Linked DNA regions of Homo sapiens: regions 1, 3 and 4 are each linked to region 2. Evidence: promoter capture Hi-C in 16 types of primary human blood cells and fetal thymus (Javierre and others, 2016). All regions are on one chromosome and are shown on one strand. Each heading gives the region's core, a stretch centred on a gene start or on the middle of the fragment in contact. The rest is flanking DNA. Distances are from core to core; before and after follow the strand shown. Region 1 overlaps EYA3 (EYA transcriptional coactivator and phosphatase 3). Region 2 holds the start of PHACTR4 (phosphatase and actin regulator 4). Region 3 overlaps OPRD1 (opioid receptor delta 1). Region 4 overlaps EYA3 (EYA transcriptional coactivator and phosphatase 3).

Region 1 (3,097 bases), core at 165-2,664, 300 kb before region 2:
CAGCCCTACCGTAGATCTTAACAATCTCAGCATATGATTTTTTTTCTTTCCTTATTTAGTGGAGAACTTTTACCTTTTCACTTAATGCACTTCTCTTTGGTGTATCTGTATTGCCAGCAACACTACTCTTGCTCTTCAGGGCCATTAAGTAAAATAAGAGTTACTCAGGCTGGGTGCAGTGGCTCATGCCTGTAATCCCAGCACTCTGGGAGGCCGAGGCGGGCGGATCATGAGGTCAGGAGTTCAAGGCCAGCCTGGCGAACATGGTGAAACCCCATCTCTACTAAAAATACAAAAATTAGCTGGGCATGGTGGCGCATGCCTGTAATCCCAGATACTCAAGAGGCTGAGGCAGGAGAACTGCTTGAACCAGGACCCGGGAGGCGGAGGTTGCAGTGAGCTGAGATCACGCCATTGCACTCCAGCCTGGGCAAGAGTGAAACTCTGTCTCAAAAAAAAAAAACAAAAAAGAGTTACTCGAACACACAAGTACTGCAGATACCTCAACAAATGATCTGATAACCAAGACGGCTCCTAAGTGAGTAACAGGCGGGAAGTGTCTACAACATGAATATGTTGGATAAAGGGATGATTCATGACCCAGGCAGGAAAGAGCAAAATGGAGAGAGACTTCATCACACTACTCAGATCAGTGCACAATTTTAAACTGATGAATTATTTGCCTGTGAAATTTTCCATTTAATATTTTCAGACCAAGGTTGATAGAAGGTAACTAAAACCGCCAAAAGCAAAACTACAGATGGTGGGGGTACTACCTTACTTAAAAATGGTTAAAACAGTTAATTTTATCTTACGTATATTTTACAATAAAAAATACAAAAAAAACCCTAAGAGATTAGAAATGCCAAAAAAAGATCAAATCTATAAAGTATTTAAAATATGAAATAAATGGAGAAAAAATCAGTATTTAGAAAACATTGTCAGAAAAACTGAATACCAACATGCAAAAAATATCCACATCAACATATGCTGTAAGTAATTATAAATATATTAAAAAACTAAACATTCAAAAAACTTTGGAGAAAACAGAACAGTAAGCTTATCTCACTATGGAAAAGAGATGAATTTATGGTCAATTCAAAGAAAGCATAAACAAGAATTTGACAAATCCAATTATGTAAAATAAACTTTCATGCAATGAAAAAAACAAATCTAAGATTAAAATATTATAAATTCAGGCAATATCTGCAAGAATTATGATAAATAAAACAATGTTTATAATATAAACCAAACCAATTCAACATTTCCCGATCATCTATTATTAGGGAGCAAACAATGACTAACTCATAAACCTGTCAAAGGATAAAAACAGGCAGTTTAAACCACAGAGATTCAATCGGCACTTGAGAAAAAAGACTGTCTCACTACTAATTGGAGAAATATAAATTGCAATATTCTTAAGATACGACTTCATACATATTAAGCTACCAAAAAAAATCTAAACAATAAAACCAAGTGTTATCTGGGTTATGAGAAGATAAAGACATATTCAGTCAGGCACAGCTGTAAAATCATATGTGTCTTCAGACTGTTCCTGGATAAAGTATAAAAGAGGTCATAAGATTGGCCACAGCCTAATCTGAATAATTTTTCTTAGGTGCTCACCCAAGAATTACATACAGGGGGGAAAGAAGCAAACTCTACTTTTAAAAATAGTATAAGTTTGTTGTCTACAGAAACGAAAAATGAGAAACAAACAACATGTGAACAATAAGTTTAACTACACTGTAACTGTAAACTATTTCAATACAAGCTTATTTAAAAGGTGAATACATGTTTTTATGTTAGTTTAATAATAGCTTACATATAATTTGATAAGAATCAAAAGCAGATACAAAGCTTACATTTAAAAGTATAGTAAAATGTTTAAATACATATTTTTAAATGCTTATATAAAAAATGTTCAAGACATTAAGCTAAAATTAGACACAAATTCTTCATTCTTGCCCCCAACTTTTTCCATTAGAAAAAAAATTTCAGTTTTGAGGGAAAAGCATTTCAAATCACAGTGATCTTGCCTTACCTAAAAAATCTTACCCTGTTTGTGACAACAGTATAGGCAGAAAGATTCATTTGATTTTCTGGCTGTGTCATCTCTTTCCTAAGAAGTTATTTAGACACTGTACACAAACTCAGGGTTGGTTCATTTTACAGCTCTAAGCAAAAGCAACGAACTTCCAATAGTTAAAGAATTTGCTATTGGAAGAGACTTCACATTTGGTTTCACTCTATTGGACAGACACGATTCTCTCTTGGAAATGCAAGAAAATATATAACAAAAGATGCTACAAAGGATAGAGTATCACAGATCATTAAATGTAATCCTTATTTTAAAGTTGAGGAAATTAAACAAAAGAGAAGGCACTGCCTCATGAACCTGTAAGCAGCAGAAACAGTGGTGGAATCCAAAACTCTGAACTCCCTTGTCTGAAGTTTTTTGTCCTCTTTATGTGGAATTGAGCATAAAACCCTCCCTTTTAAAATTACATTCCTTTATGCCTGTAATCCCAGCACTTTGGGAGGCTGAGGCAGGTGGATCACCTGAGGTCAGGAGTTCGAGACCAGCCTGGCCTACATGGTGAAACTCCGTCTCTACTAAAAATAAAAAAAATTAGCGTGGTGGTAGGCACCTGTAATCCCAGCTACTTGGGAGGCTGAGGCAGGAGAATCGCTTGAACCCGGGAGGTGGAGATTGCAGTGAGCCAAGATCGCACCACCGCACTCCAGCCTGGGCAACAAGAGTTAAGACTCCCATCTCAAAAAAAAAAAAAAAATTACATTCCTAATATTATTACCTTAGGCTACTTATTCCTTTTCTTTCATTACATCTCTATCCTATGTTACATTACTTTGATCTTATGATATAACATCATGTTCTTAACGTTTTTAAATATTTTAAATTTAAACTCAAAATTTCTTTTTCAATGTATGGATTGGCACTTTAAGGACCTCCTAAAAATCCAAAAATAACATTCCTTTTTTTTTTTTCTTTAGAGGAATAAAGAGCTTAGTTGAACAAAGAGCTACTTCTGAATCTGGCAGCCCTCAGAATCAGAAAAGATTCAGACTCAGAGAG
Region 2 (3,123 bases), core at 89-2,588:
GTACCTGGGACTACAGGCACGTTCCATCATGCCCAGCTAATTTTTAAAATTGTTTTTGTAGAGATGGGGCCTCACTCTGTTGCCCAGGCTGGCAGGCTGGTCTCAAACTCCAGGGCTCAAGGGATCCTCCCGCCTTAGCCTCCCAAAGTGCTGGGATGAGAGGTGTGAGCCACTGCACCCGGCCAATTTTTTTTTCTTCTTTTTTCTTTTTCTATTGAGACAGGGTCTTGCTCTGCTGCCCAGGCTGGAGTGCACTGGTGCGATCTCGACCCCCCAGGCTCAAGTGATCATCTCACCTCAGCCTCCCACGTAGCTGGGACTACAGGAGCTTGGCACTAGGCCCCGGATAATTTGTTTGTTTGTTTGTTTGTTTGTTTTGCGACGGAGTCTTGCTCTGTCGCCCAGGCTGGACTGCAATGGCAAGATCTCGGCTCACTGCAACCTCCGCCTCCTGGGTTCAAGCGATTCTCCTGCCTCAGCCTCCTGAGTAGCTGGGATTACAGGCATGCGCCACCGCGCCTGGCCAATTTTTTTAATTTTATGGATAGTGTATTTGAAAAGTCACATCGATTTTTCTCCTGGAATGTCCTCTAGATGTGCCGTAGCTTCAAGTTTTACATGTAGGTCTAATTTAGGTTGTGTGATACAATGGGTTTGCATTTAGAAGGGTCCTCTGGCAGCAGCAAGGAAGGTTTTCGGAGGGTGATAGCCTAGGGCCTGAAACTACTGAGACTTGGAGAGAAGTGATGGTGGCTTTCACTAGGTGATAGTAGTGAAGGATATCGAAATGAATTAAAATACTGGGGATGTAGAATGACTGGACTTAATGGCTTGAGGGAAGTGTCCAGAATGATTCCTGGGTTTCTTACGCACAACACTGAGGGTAGATAACTTGCTTGTACGTTTTTTGCACTTCAAATTGGTCCTCAATAAATAGTTTTTCCTTTGGGGAGGTTATGATTGAAATTTGGCCAGTCAGGGATACAGTTTTCTCAAACAACACTCTTGTATCAGTTCCCTTTTTGGGTACTGCCTGGAGCCCAGTATTGAACCCTGTCCTCCCAAGCCCAAAGACCTTTGCCTCCCATAGTACCAGGAAAGGTGCCCAAGTTCTTTTACACACAAGGTGCGCAGAGCGGCCAGCGCATGCCCAGAGAGGTCGTAAGGAGGACGACCGCCCGGAGAGAAAGGACGCACGCTTCCCGCCATTTTGTTCAGCTTGCCGGGCAACCGGCCCCTGCTGGGGACTACAAGTCCCGTAAGCCTCCGCGGCGGCACGTCCTACCCTACACTGTCCAGCCGGCTCCCTTTTTCCCCCTCCCCGGGGGCCAAGGGCTCCGGCTGCTGCCTGGCGGCCAACGGGCCAGGTAGGATTTCCGGGAGAGGCTGCTGTGGAGGCTGAGGAGGCGGCGGCGGAGATCTGGGTAAGTTCAGCGAGCAAGGGAAAGTGAGCAGGACGCGCTCAGTATCAGGCTGCGGCCTCCTCTCAGGCTGCGGCCCCTTTCTTGGCTCTGCGAGAGGGTCCCGGTCCGGGCAGAAGGTAACGGCCCGGGTCGCCGTCGCTTCGGGCCAGGGCGGGGCGGGGCCGCCGCCTCCCTCCTCGGCCCTCCCACAACGGTCCAACCCGGGCTTCTCCGCCTGAGGCAGGGCCCGCGCAGGCTCGCCCTCTCCGCCCCCCGAGACTTGGCTGGGCCCTTTTGTCTGGGCTGCGTTGCTCCCCCTTTGTGTCCGTGCATGGAGTCTCCGCCACGGGGGAGCCTGTTCCCCCGGTCCCCAACAGGGACTGCTCCCTGGGGATCCGGTTACAGTAACCGGATCGGGTCAAAGTACATTTTTCAAAACCGTCCTGCCTCAGACCTCTGCACCCCTGCTGGGCAGAACGGGGGCTTCGGAGCCAGGCGGAGTTTCTGTAAAAACCTGGAGGTTATTATTTAACTTTCAAACATCAGCCTGGGCGGCTTCAGGGCACGAAACTCCCGACGTTTTTCTTGGTGGAGAGATGAGATTAAGGAAAAGAAGCGACCCCTCTCTCCCACCCTCTACACCCCGGCTCCGGGAAACCGGGAAGGCATCGAATTTGCTGCGATGTCTGTGCAGCTCACATCTGTGATCGGTGGACCAAAGAACCAGTGGTGAATGGTAGAATGGCAGTTCACGCACCTCCCAAATCTCGGAGGAGAGTGACTTACAGGGCATCACTGATTGCTTGCAAAAAAAAAAAACCCTCCAGTGCTTCATTCGGACACTCAGCTCCTCGCTCCTTCCAACCTCTTCCTTTTCTTGTTCTTTTTAAAACAAACAGTGGAAGGAAAAAGTCCTTCAGTGGAAGAATTTGCTTTATAGAGGAACCAGAAACCCAGTGGCTTCTAGAAGTCACTTACTTTTTCGCCAAATTAAAGAAATGAATTTCGGGCGTGGTGGCGCGCGCCTGTAATGCCAACTATTCTGGAGGCTGAGGCAGGAGAATCGCTTGAGGCCAGAAGTTCGCGACCAGCCTGGGCAACACAGCAAGACCCCATCTTAAAAAAAAAAGGAATGAAGCCCGTTTAGAAATGAAGCCAGTTTAGGGGATGAGGTGTGGTAGATTCTTACCGGAAACCGCGGAACTGCGTGGATTGTGGATTCGATCAAATTTGGCTAGATAATGGTAACTGTGTATGTCCTCCTGTTGGAAGACTGCATTGCTAGAATCAGCTTAAGGTAAAATTTGTTTGTTTGTTTCATTTAAGAGACAAGAGTCTAGCTTGGTTGCTGAAGCTTGAGTACAGTGGAGAGCTCCTAGTTCACTGTAGCCTCGAACTTCTTGGCTTAAGCCATCCTTCCACCAGAGGCTCCCAGATGCCTGGGACTAGAGGCATGAGCCACTGTGCCCGACTATTTAATTTAATTTATTTATATTTATTTATTTATTTTGAGACAATCTCACTTTGTTACCCAGGCTGGAATGCAATGGCACGATCTTGGCTCACTGCAACCTCCACTTCCCAGGTTGAAGCGATTCTCCTGCCTCAGCCTCCTGAGTAGCTGGGATTACAGGTGTGTGCCACCATGCCCAGCTAGTTTTTGTATTTTTGGTAGAAACAAGGTTTCACCATGTTAGCCAGGCTGGCCTTGAACTCCTAA
Region 3 (3,049 bases), core at 550-3,049, 500 kb after region 2:
CTTTTCTAGCTTTTCACTAAAACACATGTTTGTCGCAGTTCTGTAAGAGGTGGAAAAGGGTCGGGGACCCTGAAGGATGAATAGGAGTTGGCCACCAAAAAGAGGAAATAGCGTGTGCGGAGGCATGGGGATGTTTAAATGCTTGGCAAACCCAACAAGTTGGGTGCAGCTGGAGCATGGGGCTTAACTAAGCTCTTCTGTGTGCCAGGCTCTCTGCCAGGTGTCTTGTGTGCATCAGCCCACCTGATCCTCAGGACAGCCTGGTGAGGAAGTAGTGTTATCCCCATTGAGGACAAAGAGAGCTGAGGCTGAGAGAGGTCAGGCTACTTGCTCCTAAGTCACAGGGCCTGTTCGTAGTGGCAGAACTTGGGTCCCTGGAATTCCAGGGTCCATGTTTCCAGTTAATTCCAGGCATCAGTGAAGTAGAAAGGCCTTAGAAGCTGGAACCCCAGAATGAGGTTTTGAAGACCTAAAACCAAATGGAAAAATCTAAAGGAAACGAGCAATTTTCCATGAACTTTTGTTCCTCCTGAAGCTCTCCAAATCTTCACGTTTCAGAATGTACTGTGCATGGTGCATTTTAAAGCTCTAAATTGACAGTGTAATTCTAGATCGTCACAGGGTTCTCAAAACTGCAGAGTAGGTCTGTTTCCCCCAAAATTTCCATTTATCTCCCTCCAGGAGGAGGGAGGGAAGTTTTTGCCCCTGATTTCAAAATGTCCTACTGTTTCAGATCTCTTCTTCTTCATCATCTTTTTTTTTTTTTTTTCAGCCAGTGTCTTGCTCTGTTGCCCAGTCTGGAGTGCAAGTGCAGTGGTGCAGTCATAGCTCACTGCAGTCTCAAACTCCTGGGCTCAAGTGATCTTCCCACCTCAGCCTCCTGAGAATCTGGGACGACGGGTGTGTGACACCATGCCCAGCAATTTTATTTTTATTTTTATTCATTTATTTTGTTTGGGTTTTTTTTTTTCTGAGACAGGGTCTCCCTCTGTCGCATAGGCTGGAGTGCAGTGGCACCATCTCGGCTCATTGCAACCTCCGCCTCCTGGGTTCAAGTCATCCTCCCGCCTCAGCCTCCTGAGTAGCTGGGATTACAGGTGTGCACCACCATAACCCAGCTAATATTTTTATTTTTAGTAGAGACGGGGTTTCACCATTTGGCCAAACTGGTCTCGAACTCCTGACCTCAGGGGATCTGCCCGCCTCAGCTTCCCAAAGTGCTGGGATTACAGGCGTGAGCCACCAAGCCCGGCCAATTTTTTTTTTTTTCAATAGAGACCAGAGTGTCTCTGTGTTGCCCAGACTGGTCTTGAACTTCTGTCCTCAAGCAATTCTCCTGCCTTGGCCTCCCAAAGTACTGGGTTTACAGGTGTGAGCCACTGTGCCCAGCTCTCATACCTCGTCTTGATGCAGTAGAAGTAGTGGTTAAGCCTGGAATCAGATCTTGGTTTTCCCTCTCTGAGCCTCAGTTTCCTCATCTGTAGAGTAGACTTCCTTCACGGGTGGTTGTGAGGATTTAATGTATGTATAGGGATAAGGCCCAGAACGTAAGTAAACTCTAAGTACATGGTAAGTGGCAGTCACTGCTTACAAGTGGAGCCAGGGTTCAGGGTCAGAGCTAGAGACCTACAGGGAAGAGTAGGTGAGCTGTCGGGGCTAGTGATGGAGAGAGAGAAGAGACTGGAGATCCAGCTTGGGGATCCCCTTGCTTCCTGGCCCAGGAGCCACCATGGAGAGTGAGAAGCTGCCAGAGAAGCAGGAGGAGGATGGAGAGAATGTGCTACCATGGAAACTGGAGGAGGAGGGCGTTCCCAGGAGGAGGGAGTGATGGATAATGTCAAGTGTCATAAGAGAGGATGCGAGTAGGGAGGGCAGGAGGGTGATGGGAGCTCTCCAATTTAGTTTTTTACATGGCCCAGGCAGCCCCCAAGCCTGGATCAAATCCCAGCTCTCAAGCTAACTGGCTGTGTGACCTAGACAAGGGATTTGCCTTCTCTGAGCTTCAGTTTCCTTCTAGAGTTGAGATGTGGGAATTGGTCCATCTCTAATACGATCATCAGCCTCACTTAATAAGAGTCCTAGCTTTGCCGAATTCTTGGCCACGTGCTAGCAGTGTGATCTTAGGCAAGTCACTTCACCTCCACGAGAGCACTCTCTGAAAGCTAGAGATATGGTAAGCAAAGTGCCACCAAAGTGCCTGGCACATAGTGGGGCCTCGATACAGGCTTATTCTCTGATAATTACACGTGTGCCAGAGGCAGCTGCTCTAAGGAGGCTTGCTGGGCTTGGAATTAGAAATGCTCCTCAAGGGCTGGGTGCAGTGGCTCACGCCTGTAATCCTAGCACTTTGGGAGGCCAAGGCGGGTGGATCATGAGGTCAGGAGTTCAACACCAGCCTGACCAACATGGTGAAACCCTGTCTGTACTAAAAACACAAAAATTAGCCAGGCGTGGTGGCGTGCACCTGTAATCCCAGCTACTCAGGAGGCTGAGGCGGGAGAATCGCCTGAACCCAGGAAGCAGAGGTTACAGTGAGCCAAGATCTTGCCACTGTACTCCAGCCTGGGCGACAGAGCGAGACTCTGTCTGAAAAAAAAAAAAAATTAAAAAGAAATGCTCCTCAAGTTGGAGAGGGCCCACTAGCATCCTGAGAGGACTTGGAAGAACAACAGTCCAGGCTGGGCACCTGCTGGGTCTCTGTCCAAAGGCCAGCCCTCTCTTTGTGTCAGCCGCAGATCCCTCACCTAGGGCATGACTACTGGCTGCCAGCTCCCACTAACACCTGCTGCAGATCCAGACTGAAGCCGGCCCCAGCGGCCCCAAAGCCCCTAGGAAGTGACCACCCCCCATCCCTGGCACCCAGATCCTGGCCCCTGCACTCACACACAAAACACATACAGATGCCTCTCTTTCATCATGTATTTATTCCTTTATTTCTGGGAGCCGGGAGGAGTGACGGGAGCAAATCAGGACCTGGCCGCCCCACGCTGAGCTTGCAGATATTGAGAGTTGGGTGACAGATGGCTGTGTGGTTCAGGCTGCAGGCAGC
Region 4 (2,812 bases), core at 239-2,738, 340 kb before region 2:
ATGAACTTCTTGAGCAAGAGAAATGCTCTCATCAAGTAGTAAATGGGGTATAAGTGTGACAAAAGACACAGCAGAAAAGCAGCACACACCTCACATACTGCTATGACAATTCATACAGGTCAGCAAAATTCCAACCCATGGAGTCTTCTGCTCATTTATAGGACAAAATGCCACTGAAAATAGACTAGAACAAAATCAAGGCGTTTTCTGGACACCAACATGCAAAAGGGAAGGCTTCAATTCTATTAAGCAGCTCACATTCAAAGGCTAAACTACTTATAAACCACACTCCTAAGCTGTGGTTTGCCTAACACAAAAAGCATGCACAAATCCAAGTATCACCCCCTTTCTACTTTAGAAGACAGAGCTCCTGTATTATCCAATTTGTTTGTTTGGAGATACAGGTAGATTAAAAACAAGAAACAATAATAATAATTTTAAAACACACACACAACCATGCCTATTTACCTTGAATGGGATAAGAATAATGTGCTGGGCTTGGCTGGCTTGTGGTTAACCCTGTAGTGCAGGTAAGAACACTGTGTTGACTTGGAGATGGAGTCTGAATTAAACCACTTTCAGGTTTCATACCTGGCCACAATGCACCTGAATCAGATAAATTGGACCAATTACAAACAATACACTGGGACTGAGGAGCATGGTTATGCTTTCAAATATCAGCCAGTAGGTTTAAAATCTAAATCTTAAAACAAAAATAAATTTGCTTGTAAGAGAAAATTATTGAATCTCCCACTTGTAATATATCACAAGCAAATAACACTTTCAAAGAATTAGGGGATGAGGCTAAAGAAACAAAAAGCTTGCCACAAATCCCAATATGTATATAAATTCATTTCAATGACTGGGGGAAATTGACCAGGATTCAGAAAAAAAGAGTTATTGACACCCAACTGGAGTATCTGTTATAAAGAGTGCCTGATGTTCATGTACAGTGATAAATAATTTATCCAAACTGTCAAGGTAGGAGACATTCCATATAAGTTTAAAATTCACTTACCCATTAAACAAGGACCAAATTTTTCTAAAATATATTAAATACTTCTCTGCCTTCTTAAGCTGGTTATTTTGTTACTTTTGTTTCTTCCGATTAGGAAAGACATACCTGCTTATTTTTATAAATTAAAAACATTACAGAAATACATAATTTAGAAAAAAAATACAGTCATATATAATCCCATCATCCAGACTTAACCACTATTAACAGTTTGCAGAAGAGTCACCCAGATGATTTCTTCTTCTTCTTTTTTTTTTTTTTAAATAAGATAGGGTTTTGCTTTGTTGCCCAGGCTGGTCTTGAACTCCAGGCCTCAAGCGATACTTTTGCCCCAGCCTCCTTTAGTGCTGGGATTATAGGCATGAGCCACTACACTCAGTCCAGATTTCTTCTATGTATTCACTAATCTTCTTTTTAACAAAAATGGGATTGTGATTTTTTGTTGTTGTTGTTGTTGTTAAGAGACAGGGTCTTCCTCTGTCACCTAGGCTCAAATAATCCTCATGCCTCAGCTACAGGAGTAGCTGAGACTATGGGTGTGTGCCACCATACTTGACTAATTTTTTGTAGAGGTGGGGTCTTGCTATGTCGCCCAGGCCAGTCTTGAACTCCTGGCCTCAAGCAATCCTCCACCTTGGCTTTTTAAAGTGTTGGGATTACAGGCATGAGCCACTGCCAGCCAAGGACTGTGTTATACATAGTGTACATAATTTGCTTTTCCACATAATACCTCTAAGATTCATCTTTCCAAGTCAGAACATATAAATCTATCTCATACTGACAAACATCATAGCTGTTCATTTTTATTTTCTTTTTATCATAATGCTCCTGAGTAACAATCTTTCTAAAATATATTTATATCCCTTCCTGCCTTCTGAGCAAGGAGGAAATAGCACACATACCTTTAGATTTTCTCAGTTACTGTTTCAAAAATAAAAACTGTGCTGTGCTACATATATTACAGAGATACCGCAGAGGCTACTGTGATGTGTAAAGACAATTGTTTAGTACTAAATATAACTTAATTATAGTTCTGATTTTTAGGTTCTAATTTCACTGTTTTTCCTCTGTGGTCTGTCACTTCTTGACTTCCTTAGCAGTATCTGCCTTTTAATTTGCAATAAACTAGGCAACCATAAACAAAGCTTTGCATCTGCATGAGAGTCCAAGGATATTCTTTATGAGTGAAACACTCTTAAGTGCATGGTTTTGGTGATAATTTTGGCTACACAAAAGCCTACTTTTAAAAAGAAAATCCTTTTTTTTTTTTTTTTGAGATGGAGTTTCGCTCTTGTTGCCCAGGCTAGAGTGCAGTGGCACGATGATCTCAGCTCATTGCAATCTCCTCCTCCCGGGTTCAAGCGACTCTCCTGCCTCAGCCTCCCTAGTAGCTGGGATTACAGGTATGTACCACCATGCCTGGCTAATTTTGTATTTTTAGTAAAGATGGGGTTTCACTATGTTGGTCAGGCTGGTCTCGAACTCCTGACCTCAGGAGTTCCACCCACCTCAGCCTCCCAAAGTGTTGGGATTACAGGCACAAGCCACCATGCCAGGCCCCAAAAATCTTAATGCCTGGTTGTTCACTGTGTTCTGAATAGCTATGGTTACTGGGTTAGTGTAGTTGAAGCTGATAATTAGGTCTAAGAAGGTTCATCAACCAAACACATTCCATGTATGATATCAATACTAAGGTTAGCCATGACTTCAAACTCAACATTAACTCATCTCATTTATTTGCTCCTACTCTGATAAACTAGGAGTGATTGAATTTATAGCCAATGAACACATATATGC

Evidence for each region. Contacts are between HindIII fragments. The CHiCAGO score rates a contact against its expected background, and 5 or more counts as called.
Region 1: a contact is called between a fragment that was not itself captured here and the fragment with the promoter of PHACTR4 in region 2, in 1 of 17 cell types (M1 macrophages). The highest score is 5.8, in M1 macrophages.
Region 3: a fragment that was not itself captured here is called in contact with the fragment with the promoter of PHACTR4 in region 2 in 7 of 17 cell types (total CD4 T cells, naive CD8 T cells, activated CD4 T cells and 4 more); the score reaches 7.3 in total CD4 T cells.
Region 4: a fragment that was not itself captured here is called in contact with the fragment with the promoter of PHACTR4 in region 2 in 1 of 17 cell types (M1 macrophages); the score reaches 6.5 in M1 macrophages.

The regions. Positions count from the first base shown.
Region 1 is chr1:28,065,556-28,068,652 of GRCh38, forward strand. The region is part of intron 1 of EYA3 (EYA transcriptional coactivator and phosphatase 3); the gene reads right to left. Among named protein-coding and RNA genes, the nearest start is that of EYA3, 22 kb to the right of the region's middle. The HindIII fragment of the contact is 715 bases long and covers 1,058-1,772 here.
Region 2 is chr1:28,368,402-28,371,524 of GRCh38, forward strand. PHACTR4 (phosphatase and actin regulator 4) reads left to right here and starts at 1,339. Exons shown (of 14, transcript NM_001048183.3): 1 at 1,339-1,424. RefSeq lists enhancers at 511-1,466, 1,117-1,411 and a silencer at 1,493-1,712. The HindIII fragment of the contact is 7,867 bases long and covers 1-2,755 here.
Region 3 is chr1:28,866,251-28,869,299 of GRCh38, forward strand. It overlaps OPRD1 (opioid receptor delta 1), which reads left to right. Exons shown (of 3, transcript NM_000911.4): 3 at 1-3,049. Among named protein-coding and RNA genes, the nearest start is that of EPB41, 47 kb to the right of the region's middle. The HindIII fragment of the contact is 6,215 bases long and covers 1-3,049 here.
Region 4 is chr1:28,027,321-28,030,132 of GRCh38, forward strand. EYA3 (EYA transcriptional coactivator and phosphatase 3) reads right to left here. Exons shown (of 18, transcript NM_001990.4): 7 at 469-606. Among named protein-coding and RNA genes, the nearest start is that of EYA3, 60 kb to the right of the region's middle. The HindIII fragment of the contact is 1,340 bases long and covers 819-2,158 here.